6 separate regions of the Homo sapiens genome follow, and all the other regions are linked to region 6. Evidence: promoter capture Hi-C in 16 types of primary human blood cells and fetal thymus (Javierre and others, 2016). All regions are on one chromosome and are shown on one strand. Each heading gives the region's core, a stretch centred on a gene start or on the middle of the fragment in contact. The rest is flanking DNA. Distances are from core to core; before and after follow the strand shown. Region 1 holds the start of PFKFB2 (6-phosphofructo-2-kinase/fructose-2,6-biphosphatase 2). Region 2 overlaps LOC107985251 (a long non-coding RNA gene). Region 3 has its middle 19 kb from the start of C1orf116. Region 4 overlaps C4BPB (complement component 4 binding protein beta). Region 5 overlaps C4BPA (complement component 4 binding protein alpha). Region 6 holds the start of CR1 (complement C3b/C4b receptor 1 (Knops blood group)).

Region 1 (2,700 bases), core at 185-2,684, 440 kb after region 6:
ATTATCATTGTCAATCATGAAACTGACAAGGGCATGACATCAAGGTCGAGGCTCTGGGAAAAGCTTTGAACATGAGATAATTCCTGGTCTCATGCTGGTCGGCTGTTTCCACCTGCTGAGATATATATATTCCTTGACTAACTGGCTATATATATATATATATATATAACCACTGAAGTGAGAAGAACTGACTGACAGGATTCTGCAGGAATGGTGCCATCCAGAAGCAGAGGCAAGAGTTAGCATTCCTTGAAGTTCCCCAAAATATGTGGGGAACAGAGTCCCAGATCTTTTGGGAAGCTATGCAGCCTATGATGCTTAGAAATACAGATGCTTGGGGACAGGAAATGATGCTTCATCTCCTCGCAAACCCTCCTGCTGTTTCTATCTAAAAGACAGGCATAGAAATGAAAATGCTCATGTGAAAGCTGTCCTCAAAAAAATGAACCTATAGGGAAAATAGTTTACAAAGTACAAAGGCTAAACCTGTGAGAAAGTAAGATGCCCAAGACACTGTGAGAAGCCAAGTGTCAGGGCTCATTCCCCTCAGGCCTGTAGGAAGGAAACCAAGCAGCACTGGCTCCCATCTGCAATTTCTACAATGAGCAGCACTCTCCCAAAACTTAGCCCAACAGATAAAGCTGGTAACATTACCAGCTCCAAGTAATTCCTGCACCTGCAACTGTGCCTTACTCATTGTGTGTACAATAATGTTAGTTCTAACTTCCATCAGCAAGCCAGTGTGCAAACATCCCAGGAGACAGAGATTCAGTTTAAGAAAGCAGTAAGAAACTGCTGGACTACACCAGTAGTCAAGCCCCAAGAACAGACATTTCACTAAGTCTACTTGTTTTAGACAGGACATTCTACCCTGGAGACTTTGCATTAAATTTCCATGTCAAATAATTATTTATCACTCCCACCAAGCAGCAGAGTCCAGGATTATAACTATATTCCCAAGATAAAATGCTGAGAGAGAGCAGTCCCTCCTCTCTGCCAGAACTCACAACATTTCTTCTCTGACATTCGAAGATTTGGGGTTTTGGTTTCATAGCTGTTGTTGTTCTGTTCTGAGGAAGATGCCCCAGACATGGCAGCTCTTCAGATGTCTGAAACAGAGAAGTAGAATGTAAAAAAGGGAAGGGGAAGAAAGAAGACATAACTTAAAAAAAGTCAGTGCATTGGATCCGTGTGGTATAAGTAAAAACACCCTGGGCCAAGAGGCAGGTTCAGTCCTGTTTCTCCCAGTTAGCAGCTACTTCTCTAGCCCTCTGTTTCCTCACCTATAAAAAGAGTTGCACTAGAACCTTACATTTATCTTCTGACTTACGAGTCTACATTTACAGACGTTATCTTCTTCAGTCCTAACAATAATCTTGTAATTAGGCAGATTTTGCCACCATTATTTCTTCTCATTTTACAGATTGAAAATTTGAGATTCATCGAATTAAGTGTCCTGCTCAAGGTTTCATGACCTCAGATTCTAGTTTTAAGAATCTGGGCAGAGTAGTGGCAGCAGTTGGGGTGGGGTGGGTTATGTATAGACGAAGTACATTACCAGGAAATTAACTCCAATCTAACGGTAGGACTCAGTTTTGCAAACAGTGAGGCCGGGCACGGTGGCTCACTCCTGGAATTCCAACACTTGGGGAGGCTGAGGCGGGCGGATCAAGAGGTCAAGAGATAGAGACCATCCTGGCCAACATGGTGAAACCTCGTCTCTACTAAAAATACAAAAATTAGCCGGGCCTGGTGGTGCGCGCCTGTAGTCCCAGCTACTCGGGAGGCTGAGGCAGGAGAATCGCTTGAACCCGGGAGGCGGAGGTTGCAGTGAGCCAAGATCCCGCCACTGCACTCCAGCCTAGCGACAGAGCGAGACTCTGTCAAAAAAAAAAAAAAAAAAAATGAAAAATGAAAAAGAAAGAAAGAAAAGAAAAAAGTGAGGGACGTGGGAAAATCTCGAACATATTCCCTGAAGGAAAAACAGTAACTGGACCCCAAGACAGCCCTAGCACGTCGTCATTTCTCCTCTAGTGCATTCTCAAGCCCTGCTCCGCACCCTCTCCCTAGTTACCCCCGGGACTCAGTCTAAAGAACGCCGGAGCGCTGAGGTGGTAAATGACTTCCCCAAGGTCACCTCAGGAAGAGGGGTAAGCCCTGATTCAAACTGGAGTGGGAAAGTCCTGAGCTCATGCCCCCAATTCAGACAACAGGGGGCTGGTGAGGACGGAAGATCCTGCGCCTTCAAGAGCCTTACACGATTCCTTTACTGACCACACAAATCCTCCAACCCAAACACAGACTGTGGCTCCCGGTCCCAGAACGTCCGCGCTGCCTGCCATGCCTGGGGACCAGCACCTCTCCCCGCACTTCATCCGGGGGCACGCAGCCCCCACATCCCGCCCCGCTAGACCCTACCCGGGGCTGCGCAGCTGTGGCTCACCCTACGATCTCTCCTAAGATCCCTCCCTGCCTTGGCCCCGGCGCCTGCCCTGTAACGCGACCGAACCGAGCCGACAGCTTGTGGCCGGGACCGGCGCTACAGTCGCCGGCAAATCATGTGAGCCCGTCTGGCCCCGCCCCCTCGCGCGTAGGTCCTCACCTGGAGAGAATCATCCACCAATCGGGCGCCTGCAGGACCCAGGGGGCGGGGCAGGGTCGCAATCGCCTAACTGGCTCGGGAAGGCGGCTGGAAGTCGG
Region 2 (2,700 bases), core at 51-2,550, 340 kb after region 6:
AGTTATAACTTTTTTAGGGCAGAGCCGAGCCTCTAGCTTTCCAATTGCTTTCTCCCCACAATTATTAAACCTGACATAGAAAGAATTCACTTCGTTTTAATTTATTTTCTTGTGGTCAAAGAAGAATATTTGGCAGCAGGGGTTTCGTAGTTGACTTTTCTCAGGCTCAACTAAACTTTAGCACCAGATTCACATTCCAAATAACCTATACATTTTTTACTCCTGGTGTAATTATTCAGCACCACTGTGGGTGAACTTCTGAAGGAAATATATGAACTAGTTAGTCATAGTGTAAAGAAAAACATTTAACTTAAAGCAAGGAGACAAACGCAACTGCTGTGTCTTTTAGGGATAGGAGCAATCATTTCAGGAAAGAAAGTTCTCTCGATGTTGATAGTGCAAAAGTAATGTGGTGATGGAAATAGACTGAGGAATAGAGGGGGAAACAGAATTTTAAAAAGTACAGAAGCAGTAATTGCCTCATCTTGCACAGGAGAAATTTAAGTTGTAAACTCAAGTTGTAAACAGGCAAAAAAAACCACAGAAGTTCCTTCTCTGGAGCAACTGGACAGCAACAAAGAAGACACCTATAAACATCAGTATTTGGATATTCATTGTCCTATACTTGTCATGAGATAGGACAACCAAAAACTCAATGGCTCAGAGCAGGTAGAACTTTATTTTTCTTTCAAAAACAGTTCGGAGGCAAAAACCCAGTCAGGATGGAAGGCAGTACTGCTCAACATGGTCAACTAGGGACTAGGGCCTTTTCTCCTTGTTGCTTTAATATCCCCTAGGATGCTGTCCTTCTCAAAAAGGCAGAAGCTGGCTCTCAGGCACCCTATCAGCATTTCAGCCCTCAAGAGTATGGAAGAGGAAGAGGAGAGCAAGAAGCTTCCTTTTTAAGAAGGTGACAAGCATGTTGCATTTATTGGGAGGTTGCTCCAAGGGAGGGACTAGTTGAGCAACACTGTGCCCTGCTGAAATGGTAGAAGTGGTTCTATTACTTAAAGTGAAAATAGAGGTTAATACAGGGAAACAATTAACACTCTCTGTTATAGCCACAAGTTAATTTAAAATGCCTCACTGTCCCATCAGGCTGCAAGTAAGCCTGCTGCCAGCAAAATTTGTTCACATACACAGAACTTTAAATGAGATTATTTAGGCCTTACTCTTAAAGAACAACTGCTGACCAATGATCATTAACAGAGGTTTGCAGGGAGCAAAATCATACTTCTCTATTGCAAAATAGCTCCATAGAGACAATAATGAATCTAGGTGGAAAGAACAGGATTACTATTTTTTTAAAAACAGAAAACAATTTTTAAAAATTCTTTGAAAAATGTTAGCAAGTGTTCTTAAAAGAAATTGAAAAATTCAGAAAAAAAATGAAGTCAAGGAAATCTCCAAAAAAATGTTTGGAGAATTGAAGGTAAGAATGAGGGCAGAAAACATAACTAAATCCAATAATTAACAAGGAGGTCCAATATCAAATGATTTTGGTTTCCATGAAAAGAGAAAACAGTGAAGAAATGTTACTGAAAACATTTTCTAAGAAAATTTCTCAGAATAATAAGAACATGAGTTTATAGTGTGAAAGAGCCCATCAAGAATTAGCATAATAAATAAAAATAAATCATACAGTAAAGTATACCAACATGATATTTTAGAACACCATGAGTAAAGATTGTATCCTAAAAGCTTCCAGCGTTGAGGAAAAGTCAGGTCAGAAATCAGGATGTCTTTTGACTTCTCAATAGCTGTATGGAATATATTAAAACAGTAGACAAATTCCTTTAAAATGAGAGGAAAAATTACACTTTACCCACCCTACTACACCCAGCCAAACTATCAATCAAGTGTGAAAATAATGACAGTTTCAAGAATATAGGAGTTCACTCAATAGCTTACTTCCTATACATCATTTCTTAGGAAGTTCCTGGAGGATGTGCTCCAATAAAATGAGGAAATAAGAAAGAGAACATGAGTCAACAAAGTAAAGACAGGGCAGGAAGGCGAGTCTACAGATATGAGAACATCCATTGCTTGTTGTAGTGTGTAGCAGCCCCTGTCAATGTCCTGTCAGTATCACCAGCGCCCTGCCACTTTAGCACACTCTAAACAACTTCCAACTGCCTATATCTGTTTCCTTTTACCCAGGCTTTTTCCACAACCATCGAAGGCTACTCTGATTTGCAATTAGCAGGATAAACTGAAGATAACACCTTGCAGAAGCAGATCTCAATTAACAACTGATGGAAGTATGTATAAATATCCCAGCTCCCTACCCTTAGCTATGATTACTCTGAGGTGCGAGTTCACCATCTTTATCAGTGTCCCTTGGGATGAGGCTGTGGTCATCCTAACTAGCTTGCTAACATATCCTTTTTGGTTGACTTTCCTTCCATATCTCACTGCCTTTCTCTCCTGGTGTTTCCTGCACCTCCTAAACAAATTACCTACATTTTAATTCTTGTTTCAAGGTCTGTTTCTAGGACTTTGGGAGAAAGACACACAAGAATAAGAAAGGAATTGATAAAGCATATGATATCTCAACATTTGGAATAGATTTGGTAGACTGAAAAATCTCTTGGTGCATTTAGGAGGAAATGTAAATAGAAATATAGAAAACAAAACAAGCAAGCAAACAAACATTACTGGAAAAGGACATTATAGACAACGTATTAAAACAAAAGCAAT
Region 3 (2,700 bases), core at 56-2,555, 480 kb after region 6:
GATCCCCTCTTTTCATGTCCACTTCAACTAAACATTTATTGAGTCCCTCTTAGAACCAAGAATTCTCATGTTCAGTATCTCAAGTAAGCTTCATAACAGCCCCACACATTTCTATCTAACTCTCTGTCAATTAGGGAACCAAGACACAGACAGTTTACTCAACTTGCCCAAGTTCATAAGTTAGTAATTATTGGAGTCATGGATTTGAACTTGGGTTGACCTCTCAGCAAGGCCAGTGCTGTTTTGCTATTACAAATCTGCCATATAAAAACAATTTCACTGACACCGCAAACAACAAAGATAGAATTACCCATGTTTTACACATGAGGAACATGAGTTTCAGAGAGCTCATGGGGTTACAATAAGTAAAACTAGAGACAGAATCACGGCCCCTGGTTCAGCACACTCATTCGTTTCTCAGTTTCCTGAGTTCAAACCCTCTATCCAATATTAGGAAAACAAAGATAAATAAGACATACCCAGAAAATGAAGGAGCTCATAGTCTAGCAAGAGAGACAATAAGGTATGATTATATTCAAGATATAAAGATATAGAACCATAGAGGGTAGGGATCTAAGAGAGGAGGGGAAAGACCTGGAAAGAAGAGGTGTTCCAGACAGAGGAAACAGCATGTGCCAAGAAAGCACAAAGAAGTGTGGTGTATCTGGAGAACTGTCTGTGATGTACAGTGCCCAGGGATGAGGCCAGAGGAGCAGGCAACAGGAGACTGTGGAGGGCCTATGTGCCATGCAAAACAGTCTGATCTCTATCCTGTGAGCAGTGGAGAGTCAATGGGAGATTTAAAGCAGGGAAGTAGCAAGGTCAAAATTGCATTTTGTAAAGGCTCTGGCCAAGGCTGTGGATAATGGAACATACTGCAATGATACTACAACAAAGAAACGAGCTAGAAGCCTTTATCAGTCAAAGATGCTTTTGGCTGCAAGTAACAGAACCCTCTGTGGCTTAAATAAAAGGGGATTTATCTTTTTCTCCCATACTGGGAAATATGAGGGTAGGTGGCTATGGGCATTGTTCAGGGCAGAGGCACAGGAATTCTCTTTGCCTTCCTTCTGCAATTGCGAGATGGTGGCTCCAGTCATATTGCTGGCATTCAAAGGATTAAGAAGGGAAAAAATACTGGGAGCATCCATATCTGTCTTTTTAAATAAGAAAGCAAAGTCTTTCCCAGAAACTTCTGAACAGACTTTCTTTTCTGTCTCATTGACCAGAATTACGTCACAAGCCATCTCTGGCTGTAAGAAAGCCTGTCTTGTCCTCTCTAATAGAGGCCAGCCTGGGAGAAGGGGGTGGATGTGAGTCTTCTGCTAGCTAATCCACAATGCTCCCAACAGTCCAAGTGAGAATTTAAATAAATCAGTGAAGATGGAGGTGGTGCACAATTCTAAATGTGCCCACAAACCAACCAGCAGCTTAGTGACTGACTGGATGTAAAGACTAAAGGAGAAAGAGGAGCTCAAAATGATGCCCACATTGCTGGTCTGAACAAGTAGACAGAATTCATGAATGTGCTATAGGGGTAGGACCAGGAAGAAGGGAGGTTTGGTTTGGGGCATACGGAGTTTGAGGTTGCTGTGGGACTTCTAAGTTGACATGGCCCCTGGCAGGTAGACTGCGGGTCTGCAGTTCATGGGGGAGAAGCGATAACAGAGCCACTAAATGTAGGTGACAGTCGATCATGAGCATGGATAAGGCTGTCTAGGGAGGATGGGTAGAATAAGAAGAACAGAGCTCATGGATGGATCTCTGGGGCACACTGACATCTAAAGGGAGGTAAATAAAGAGAAGTCCAATGAGAAAACTGCACCCCCAATTTCTACTTGATCACTGTTCTGTCTAGTATCTCTCAAATTAAAAAATTAACAACAACAACAACAAAATTAAAACCTTCCTTAACCCCACATCTTCTAGAGCAGAGTTGTCCATCAGAAATTTCAGCAATGATAAAACTATGCTCTATCTGCTCTGCCCAATTGAGTAGCTGCTCCTCACATGTGGCCCTCAAGCACTTGATATTTGGCTAGTGTGACAAAGAACTAAATGTCTAATTTTATTTAATTTTAATTAACATAAACTTACATTTTTTAATTAGGCAAGTGGCTCTGGTGTTGGACAGCACTGCTCTAGCACCCTAGCCATCTCTCTGCTCCCCTCTGGAAATGTCCCTTGAAATAAACACAACCTCTCCTTTCTCACCTGAACCTCACTCCTCCTCCCGCTTCAACCAAGCATCTTTCCCCTCCATGCCCCCAAGACCATGTTGTCAGAGTTACCAATGACATCCATGTTGGCAGATCCAGTAGTCTGCTTTACTCGCATTTACTTTATTTCTCTGCACATTTGACACAATTGACGACTCCCTTCATTTTGAAACACTGACTCCTGGGTACTGTGTACTCCTCCTCAGGATCTTTTGCCTTCTCATCCTCTTGGGCCTCAGGGCTCTCTCCTGTGCCCCCTTCTCAGATCTGTCTTCATGTTCTCCTTTAAATGCATCAAGCTTGTCCCAGCTCTGGGACTCTACCTTGGCTGTTCCTTCTCCTGGAGTTCTTTTCTCCTCGTCTTTACGTAGCTAGTTCCTTCTCATCCTTTACGTTTTAGATTAAATTTCAGATTTTCTGAGAGGCCTTTGCTGAATGATCAAGCTAAAGATGACACTTGATCTTTCCTATGTGGTACTAT
Region 4 (2,700 bases), core at 175-2,674, 400 kb after region 6:
AGATTAATCCTAGGAATGAATTTACTTGGTTAAAAATCTTATTATTGGCCAGGCGTGGTAGCTCATGCTTGTAATCCCAGCACTTTGGGAGGCCGAGGCGGGCAGATCACCTGAGGTCAGGAGTTCGAGACAGCCTGACCAACATAGGGAAACCCCGTCTCTACTAAAAATACAAAATTAGCCGGGCATGGTGGCGCATGCCTGTAATCCCAGCTACTCAGGAGGCAGAGGCAGGAGAATCGCTTGAACCCAGGAGGCAGAGGTTGTGGTGAGCTGAGATCACGCCATTGCACTCTAGCCTGGGCAACAAGAGCGAAACTCCATCTCAAAAAAAAAAATTGGTTTTAAATCTTATTATTGTCTTACTCCATTTCTCAAATATTCTTTCCAACTGGAATGAGCTCTTTAATCTTTGTCTCTAATTCTCACTTACTTTTGAAGGCCCAAATAACTGTGACTTCTTCCTTGACAATATTCCTGCCTCCTCCTCCCAGACAGAAGTGAACCTCCTCTCATCTGAGCTCTCATAGCCCACTGTTGTCTGAAAATGTTTAGTTCATTCTAACCACTCTAAAATAATGCTACGTGTGTACATGTCTTGTGCCTATTAGTAGACTCTGGGGTACTCAAGAGTCCATCTCTTATTCCCCTTCATAACTTTACCTAGCGATTTTCCATTATTTCAAGCTGGCTTATATATTTTGGTTGCACTTTATCTAGATATCCTACGTGTTTCAGGTAGCAGTCAGGACGAGAGGTGGGAGAAGCTTGTCATGCCAGCTCAGTATGACATTTTGATTGAAAGCCTTAGGATTCTTATTTCTTCTACCCTCTAAAAAAGGAGAATTGTAAGTAAAAAATAATATAAAATTTTTGTTTCTAAAAAAGAGAAGAAATATATTCACTTGTGTTGCACCATCTCTAATTTATCATGCAGGACCAGGTTTCATTCAAGAGGCAGTAAGCAATTTTCCTGCAGCTTTGGAAACCTGTTTCCGTAAGCCAGATGTGGGCAAGACTGGGAGGAGAATTTGGGTCCTAGCTCTCCTTCTGTCCCAGTGGGTCATTTTTAAGGATGTAACTATTCTAAGCATCTTTTCCAAAATGGAAGGTTAATTTTTGCCTCATAAGTTGCGGTTAGTTTTGGTTTCATAATTCATGGTCTCATGTTAAAATACGAGTTACTCTCTCGGCTGAGATCAGAGTTTTCCATTCTCCTTACAGACTGGAAATTAAGCCCTCTATTCTCCAATAATATGTTGCTAATTCTGGCCTTAGACAACCACTACATTTGGCCTTTTCACATTCTGAGAACAACACACACACACACACACACACACATACACACACACACACACACACACACACACACACACACACATGGTGCATTATACAACTGCTGTTGGCAATTTCAGCCCAATAAGAGGTAAATCTGAAACCAATTTCAGAACCAAGAAGAAAATTTATTCATAGGTTTATTTCTATTACATCTGCTCAGCTGTAGTGTTACAACAATTTTGCCTTCAACTCAGCTTTCTTCAGCTCCAGAGAATATTTTAGCTCCTCCATTGTCATGCCACTTTCCTTTAATTGTTGCATAAAGTTCTCCATGGCTTCGCAGAGGTTCTTACTCTCCTGAAAGGCAAGCTGAAGAAAGAAAATTTTTCACAAGTTACAACATAAGGACTGAGACCCAGCTATATACTCTGAAGCCAGTGAGCAGCAGTTAGCTCTCTGAATGGGGGCTCAGAACCAGGCTAGCTTAAGTAAAGATTTGGGTTTTCAACATGGCAAATCATTTATATTTTCTGGCTTAAATATACTTATTAATATTATCCCAGTAATAAATATGAACTAAAAGAAGAATCTCAATGAAAATGGATCTGTTCAGTGTTGTTTGTTTAGTTTTGGAGCCTAGAAGAATTTTAGAGACTTTTCCAATTCTCACGCATTGTGCTTATGTGCTTTGCTCTATAACAGGGATCCCCAACCCCAGGGCCACAGACCGGTACCGGTCCACGGACTATTAGGAACTGGGCCACACAGCAGAAAGTGAGCAGCGGGCAGGCAAGCAAAGCTTCAGCTGTATTTATAGCCACTCTGCTTTGCTCACATTGCTGCCTGAGCTCCACCTCCTGTCAGGTCAGAGGTGGCATTAGATTCTCATAAGAGCGTGAAACCTATTGTGAACTGCTCATGCGAGGGATCTAGGTTGACCCCTCTTTATGAGAGTCTAATGCCTGGTAACCTGTCACTGTCTCCCATCACTCCCAGATGAGAATCTAGTGCCTGATGATCTGTCACTGTCTCCCATCACTCCCAGATGAGAATCTAATGCCTGATGATCTGTCACTGTCTCCCATCACTCCCAGATGAGAATCTAATGCCTGATGATCTGTCACTGTCTCCCATCACTCCCAGATGAGAATCTAATGCCTGATGATCTGTCACTGTCTCCCATCACTCCCAGATGAGATTCTAATGCCTGATGATCTGTCACTGTCTCTCATCATTCCCAGATGAGATTCTAATGTGTGATGATCTGTCACTGTCTCTCATCACTCCCAGATGAGAATCTAATGCCTGATGATCTGTCACTGTTTCCCAACACTCCCAGATGAGAATCTAATGCCTGATAATCTGTCAGTTTCCCATCACTCCTAACTAGATGGGACCCTCTAGTTGCAGGAAAACAAGCTC
Region 5 (2,700 bases), core at 152-2,651, 380 kb after region 6:
ATATCAAACTAACATGCAGAAATCAATAGTAGATAGATGATAGATAGATAGATAGATAGATAGATAGATAGACAGATGATAGATAGATAGATGATAGATAGATAGATATAGATAGATAGACAGACAGACAGACAGACAGACAGACAGACAGATAGATGATAGATAGATGATAGATAAACTAGTTACAATACAAATTGGATAAATAATCCATTTAAAATACCAAAAACATTTTTTGTTTGGTTTTGCCAGAGGTTTAAACTCTTCAAGAAATGCAAAATCTATGTGAGGAAAGCTGAAACACACATGAAGAAACAAGGAAAAAAAGACTAAGACGAACTGAGGAAAGCATAGCAAAGGGTAGCAGAATATGCCAAAATAGACCAGTTTGGCATAAAGATTGTTTTTTGAGTTAAAAGCACTTGAAACACAGCAAGATGCAGGAAGGGCACTCTGACCTCCCCTTTTCTTCCTGAAGGCAGGACATGAAACTCTCACAGGAAAGATACCTTCCCTGTACCTGAAGGAAAAGAACACTCTTATCACCAGAGGCAGGGAGTCAAGGCCAAGAGAAATCTGTACAAAGAAACTTTGTACAAAGACCACTTTTTGGGTCTTCATTTTCCTGTGAAGTTTCCTATGTACTTGTTAAAATAAAACCTGTGTGCTTTTCTCCTGTTAATCTGTTTCATGTCAACTTAATTCTCAGGCCTGGTGGAGACCCTAAGAGGGTAGAGGAATAGTTTTGCCTTCTCTACGGTAACATATTCTTAACTAGAGAGAGTCAACATTATAAAATATCTATTCTCCTAAAGTTAATTTTACCAGTTTATTTTTCGAGATGAGGTCTTGCCCTGTCACCCAGGTTGTAGTGCAGTGGCACTATCATGGCTCACTGCAGCCTCGACCTCCCAGGCTCAAGTGATCCTGCCACCTCAGCCTGTTGCATAGCTGGGACTAGAAGTGCGTGCTACCACACTCGGCTAATGTTTTTAATTTCTTGTAGAGACAAGGTCTCCCTGTGTTGCCCGGGCTGGTCTCGAACTCCTGGACTCAAGAGATCTTCCCACCTTGGTCTTCCAAAGTGCTGGGATTACAGGTGTGAGCCACTGCACTTCACCTAAAATTAATTTTAAAACTAATCTAACACTGATTTTAAAATATGTCTAACTTTAAAGTTCTTATAGAAAAATAAATACATACTGTCAGGAAAACTTCAAAAAAGAAGAGCAATAAGATAGCTCTACCCATATTGGCTATTAAAACATATTATAAAGCTTCAATTATTAAATGACTGTGAAACGCATACATAAATGTACAGGAAAAATACGGGCATTGAATAGAAAGTCCAGAAATAGACCTAGATAAGTATATGAATTTTATATAATATCAAAGAGCATCTTAAATCAGTAAAGGCAAACTTTTAAATAAGTGGTGTTGGCGTAACAGGAAAGCAATATGAAAAGATATAGTCTAAAATCTGTACCTCATACTGTATACTGTATATTAACTCCAAATAAATTAAAGCTTTGAATATTAAAAAATATGAAAATATAAAAGAAGTAGAGGAAATATAGGCGATTTTTTTTAAACCTTATATTGGGGAAGGCCTTAGGACATAAAATCCAAAAGCCATTTCTAAAAGGGAAATTGATGAATTTAACAACATAAATACAAATAATTTCTCCTTAAGGGGAAAAAATACCAATAGCCAAGTCAAAAACATTATACACACACACACACACACACACACACACACACACACACACACATATACACACACACACACACACTGTGGGAAAAGTTACAGTATATATCAGAATCAAGGCCTAAATCCTGCAATGCACAGACTCATGTGTATGTCTAAATGTATACATCCTAAAACTTAAGAATAAAAAGTTCAACAAGTTAAGGAAAAAAAACAACAACCAGGCATCAGACATGCTAACTAGTGCACAAATAAATACAAACATCCCCTGGACATATAAAACTATACTTAACCTCCCTGACAATAAGAGAAATGTACAGTGAAACTATAGTGAGATTTTATTTTCACCTCTTACATTGGGAAAAATTCAAAAATTTGACAAGTTTTCGAAAGTTTGACAACACAGTTGGAGAGTTTGTGGAGAGACAGACATTTACATACTCTGCAAAACCATGAAACCCTTAGGGAAAGCAGTCTGACAATATCTTTCAAATTTTCAAATATACATACTCTTTGAGCCAGAAAGGCCTCCTCTAGGAAGCTATCCTGCAGATGTAACTACATATGTATAAAATGACACACATACAAGAGAATACTTCAGAGCATTGTTCAGAATAGCAAAAGATTAGAAACATCCATGGATCCATCACAAGGACGGCAAAGCCATGACACAACTACACAACAACATTCTATGCAGTTGTAAAAAGAAATTAATGAGGAAACTCTCTATGCGCAAACATGGAAATATCTCCAGTATACATTGATAAGTAAACAATAAAGCAAGATTCAATACTAGGTTCATTAGAGGAAAGGGGGGAAAATAAGAATATATGCTAACTTCTTAGCTTGTATTTATATAAGGAAACACTAGAAAGATATATACGAACCAATAAAAATAGATCTTTGCTTGAGGACGGGAAGGAATGTGGTGTATGGAGATAGGATGGAAATGAGAATTCTCAACGTCTATCTTTTTACATCATTTTAAATTTTGA
Region 6 (2,700 bases), core at 201-2,700:
TCTGCACCTGACAGGTTACTTTCTGGTGCCTAAGGAGATCAAATATTAATAACAACTCTTGCGGGACTTGGTTCTACTTTATTTTATTTTATTTACTCTTTTAGAGAAGAAGGAACACTCAAATAATGAATGTAAAATGTCTAGTGGCAGAGAAGGGCGAACCCGGAGTTGTCAGGAATAGGCTGGACAAAAACAACCAAGACTGTCACTTCAAATGAGATGTTGCCAGTGAGTCTAGGCAACCAAGAAGACTTCTGGGGAGCCGAAAAATAATAATAGAAGGGTTCTAACTGAAGATGTTTACCTATTTGAAGTTAAGAAAAAGGAAGAGATGTGGCCTCAAAATTTCCATAATAATTATAATAGGCGTTATTTTGTACTAAACACATCACTAAAATGCGAACTGTAAACATATCTACTGTCCCTTCTACCTGCAACGGTTACATTGCATGTTCTGGGGCTTCCCTTGCTCTTCTAATCCGCAAGTGCCTGGCATGCATCTGTCTTAAAGTATGCTGTCAATTAAGTGCATGGTGATGATGGCCGTGGTGGCTTGGTGTGGGGGGCGAGGACAGTTCCATGCGGGGCAGTTGTCAGGTAACACCTGCATCCCTAGGACTGCTTGTCTAAACACCATTGGGAGCAAAGTACAGAGGTAACGGTTGGGGGATAGAAATGGACTCGGGGACACATAGCCCTGTGTTAGATACTCGACAGGCTTAATGCCACTGAGGCAGCAACTCCACGATGCAGAGATACCAGTGTCCCCATTTTACAGAAGAGCAAACAGACTCAGGTGTGCTAAGTTGCCTCACAGTTAAGTTTCTAGGACCAGAACTCAGGTTTGTCGGATCCCCAAGTTCCCTTTCACTAGGATCAACGCCACGTCTTGGCTATAGCCAGCCGAGGCTGTGAATACACAAAGGCAAGGAATTTCGTGCGGCACCCGCTCAGCATCTGCGCCTTCCACTGCGCTCGTCACGACTTAAGCCCCTGCACCTGGGAACTCCACGCTTACCCAGAAGCAGCGAGGGTCTCCAGTGCGCAGAAGGATCCTACACCCGCCGCCCTGCCGGGTCGCGCGCTCAGCCCACCCATCGCGCTGCCTTCGGACCCGGGCGCGCAGAGCAGCGCAGCTCAGCGCTGCACGCGAGTTCTCTGCGGGGCCCCGGGTTCCTCGTCCGCCCGGGCGCCTCCCCACGCCCGCCCGCCTCTCACCCCAGGCCACCGGCAGCGCAAGCAGCACCACAACCGCCAGCAGGGATCCTCCGCAGCAGAAGGGGAGACCGGGCGCCGGCGGCCCGACAGGCTCCGGGCTTCTTGGAGAAGAGGCCCCCATTCTCCCCAAGCACATCTACAAACCAGATTTGATCTCGAAGAAAACTGAAATAAGAGGAAAAGCTCAGCGAAAATAGGAGTGACCAATCATTGTGCTCCGCGCCCAGAGTGTGGGGAGGGCTGCGGGGTTCCGGGACAAAATGCTTTTGACCACAGCTTCCCCTTCATGGGCGAGGTCATGTTTACTCCCCATTTGCATTGTTTCTAACGAGTTTCGCTGGCAGAGCCCACCTTGCTGACCCAGGTGCAGCAGCAGAGCTTGACAATGCTCGGGCTTCCGATGGATCCCGCGTGTGAGGCCCTGCGCTTCCAGACAAAGGCGGTGGATGATGGCAGCTCGCCTCCAAACACCCTGCTTAACTTTTCCTCTTTGCAAGAATGTGTGTGGGAAGGTCAGCTAATGAAATGCCTGCTCTCCGTGTTGAAGGGCAATTGCAGGCGATGTGTACGGTGTACAGGGAATGTGAAGAAACAATTTCCTTACCCTGAATTGAGACGTCATGCCATTGTAAGATTTTTTAAAAGGGAGGGACAATTAGATACACATTTAAAAAATGTAAATCTGTGTATAGTATGGAAGGTAGATTAGAATAGGGCAATAATGGACTGCGAAGACCAGTCAGGGGAGCTTTTGCCGACATCCAAGTGAGGTTTGATGGCGGCCCTGACTGGGTGGATAAAGTGGACAATTAACAAAGATATTGGAGATGGAATGAACAGTTGCTCATGTATTGGATTTTGGTTACTTCCTTTCTTAAGGTTGGTGGTGAGAAGAAAGCAATCAAGAGTTAGCCCCCTTGCGGTAGTTTGCTGAGAATGATGGTTTCCAGCTTCCACAATGAGAACACATGGACACAGGAAGAGGAACATCACACACCGGGGCCTGTTGTGGGGTGGGGGGAGGGGGGAGGGATAGCATTAGGAGATATACCTAATGTAAAGGACGAGTTAATGGGTGCAGCACACCAACGTCGCACATGTATGCATATGTAACAAACCTGCACGTTGTGCACATGTACCCTAAAACTTAAAGTATAATAAAAAAAAGAAACAAAAAAAAGAAAAAAGAAAGAAATAATTAAATAATTAAGTTTAAAAAAGGTAGAAAAAATAATATTTTATCTTTTTTATTGGGGGTGGCCTGTCCTTCTGACATGTACTGCCTGCCTGTAGGTAGGCTATTTTGCCTGGGTTTTTCTCTTAAAATAATTTTGACTTTAAACCTTGATTTTGTTGTTGTTGTTGTTGTTGTTGCTAATTTTATGTTAAACTTGTTTTCCTTAACCATTAAAAGGAGACATGATTCAGAAAAGAAAAAAAAAAAAGAGTTAGCCCCAGGATTAGAAATGAATGGTGGTGCTA

Evidence for each region. The method cuts DNA at HindIII sites, captures the fragments that hold promoters and counts their contacts. A CHiCAGO score of 5 or more calls a contact.
Region 1: a contact is called between a fragment that was not itself captured here and the fragment with the promoter of CR1 in region 6, in 6 of 17 cell types (total B cells, M0 macrophages, M2 macrophages and 3 more). The highest score is 9.4, in total B cells.
Region 2: a contact is called between a fragment that was not itself captured here and the fragment with the promoter of CR1 in region 6, in 3 of 17 cell types (M2 macrophages, total CD4 T cells and total B cells). The highest score is 7.5, in M2 macrophages.
Region 3: a contact is called between a fragment that was not itself captured here and the fragment with the promoter of CR1 in region 6, in 5 of 17 cell types (fetal thymus, naive CD8 T cells, total B cells and 2 more). The highest score is 6.3, in fetal thymus.
Region 4: a contact is called between a fragment that was not itself captured here and the fragment with the promoter of CR1 in region 6, in 10 of 17 cell types (M1 macrophages, naive CD4 T cells, monocytes and 7 more). The highest score is 8.3, in M1 macrophages.
Region 5: a fragment that was not itself captured here is called in contact with the fragment with the promoter of CR1 in region 6 in 4 of 17 cell types (naive B cells, naive CD4 T cells, total B cells and 1 more); the score reaches 7.6 in naive B cells.

The regions. Positions count from the first base shown.
Region 1 is chr1:207,053,110-207,055,809 of GRCh38, reverse strand. PFKFB2 (6-phosphofructo-2-kinase/fructose-2,6-biphosphatase 2) reads right to left here and starts at 2,535. Exons shown (of 15, transcript NM_006212.2): 1 at 2,444-2,535; 2 at 1,008-1,109. The coding sequence starts at 1,092. It also overlaps a transcript of YOD1 not described here. RefSeq lists an enhancer at 2,605-2,700. The HindIII fragment of the contact is 2,737 bases long and covers 66-2,700 here.
Region 2 is chr1:207,154,519-207,157,218 of GRCh38, reverse strand. The region is part of intron 1 of LOC107985251 (a long non-coding RNA gene); the gene reads left to right. Among named protein-coding and RNA genes, the nearest start is that of C4BPA, 52 kb to the right of the region's middle. The HindIII fragment of the contact is 807 bases long and covers 897-1,703 here.
Region 3 is chr1:207,012,442-207,015,141 of GRCh38, reverse strand. No RefSeq gene overlaps it. Among named protein-coding and RNA genes, the nearest start is that of C1orf116, 19 kb to the left of the region's middle. The HindIII fragment of the contact is 2,430 bases long and covers 91-2,520 here.
Region 4 is chr1:207,098,736-207,101,435 of GRCh38, reverse strand. It overlaps C4BPB (complement component 4 binding protein beta), which reads right to left. Exons shown (of 7, transcript NM_001017365.3): 7 at 1,443-1,647. The coding sequence ends at 1,507. Among named protein-coding and RNA genes, the nearest start is that of C4BPA, 4.1 kb to the left of the region's middle. The HindIII fragment of the contact is 1,310 bases long and covers 770-2,079 here.
Region 5 is chr1:207,115,586-207,118,285 of GRCh38, reverse strand. All of the region lies in intron 4 of C4BPA (complement component 4 binding protein alpha), which reads right to left. Among named protein-coding and RNA genes, the nearest start is that of C4BPA, 13 kb to the right of the region's middle. The HindIII fragment of the contact is 250 bases long and covers 1,277-1,526 here.
Region 6 is chr1:207,494,907-207,497,606 of GRCh38, reverse strand. It overlaps CR1 (complement C3b/C4b receptor 1 (Knops blood group)), which reads right to left and starts at 1,450. Exons shown (of 47, transcript NM_000651.6): 1 at 1,219-1,450. The coding sequence starts at 1,339. The HindIII fragment of the contact is 13,119 bases long and covers 1-2,700 here.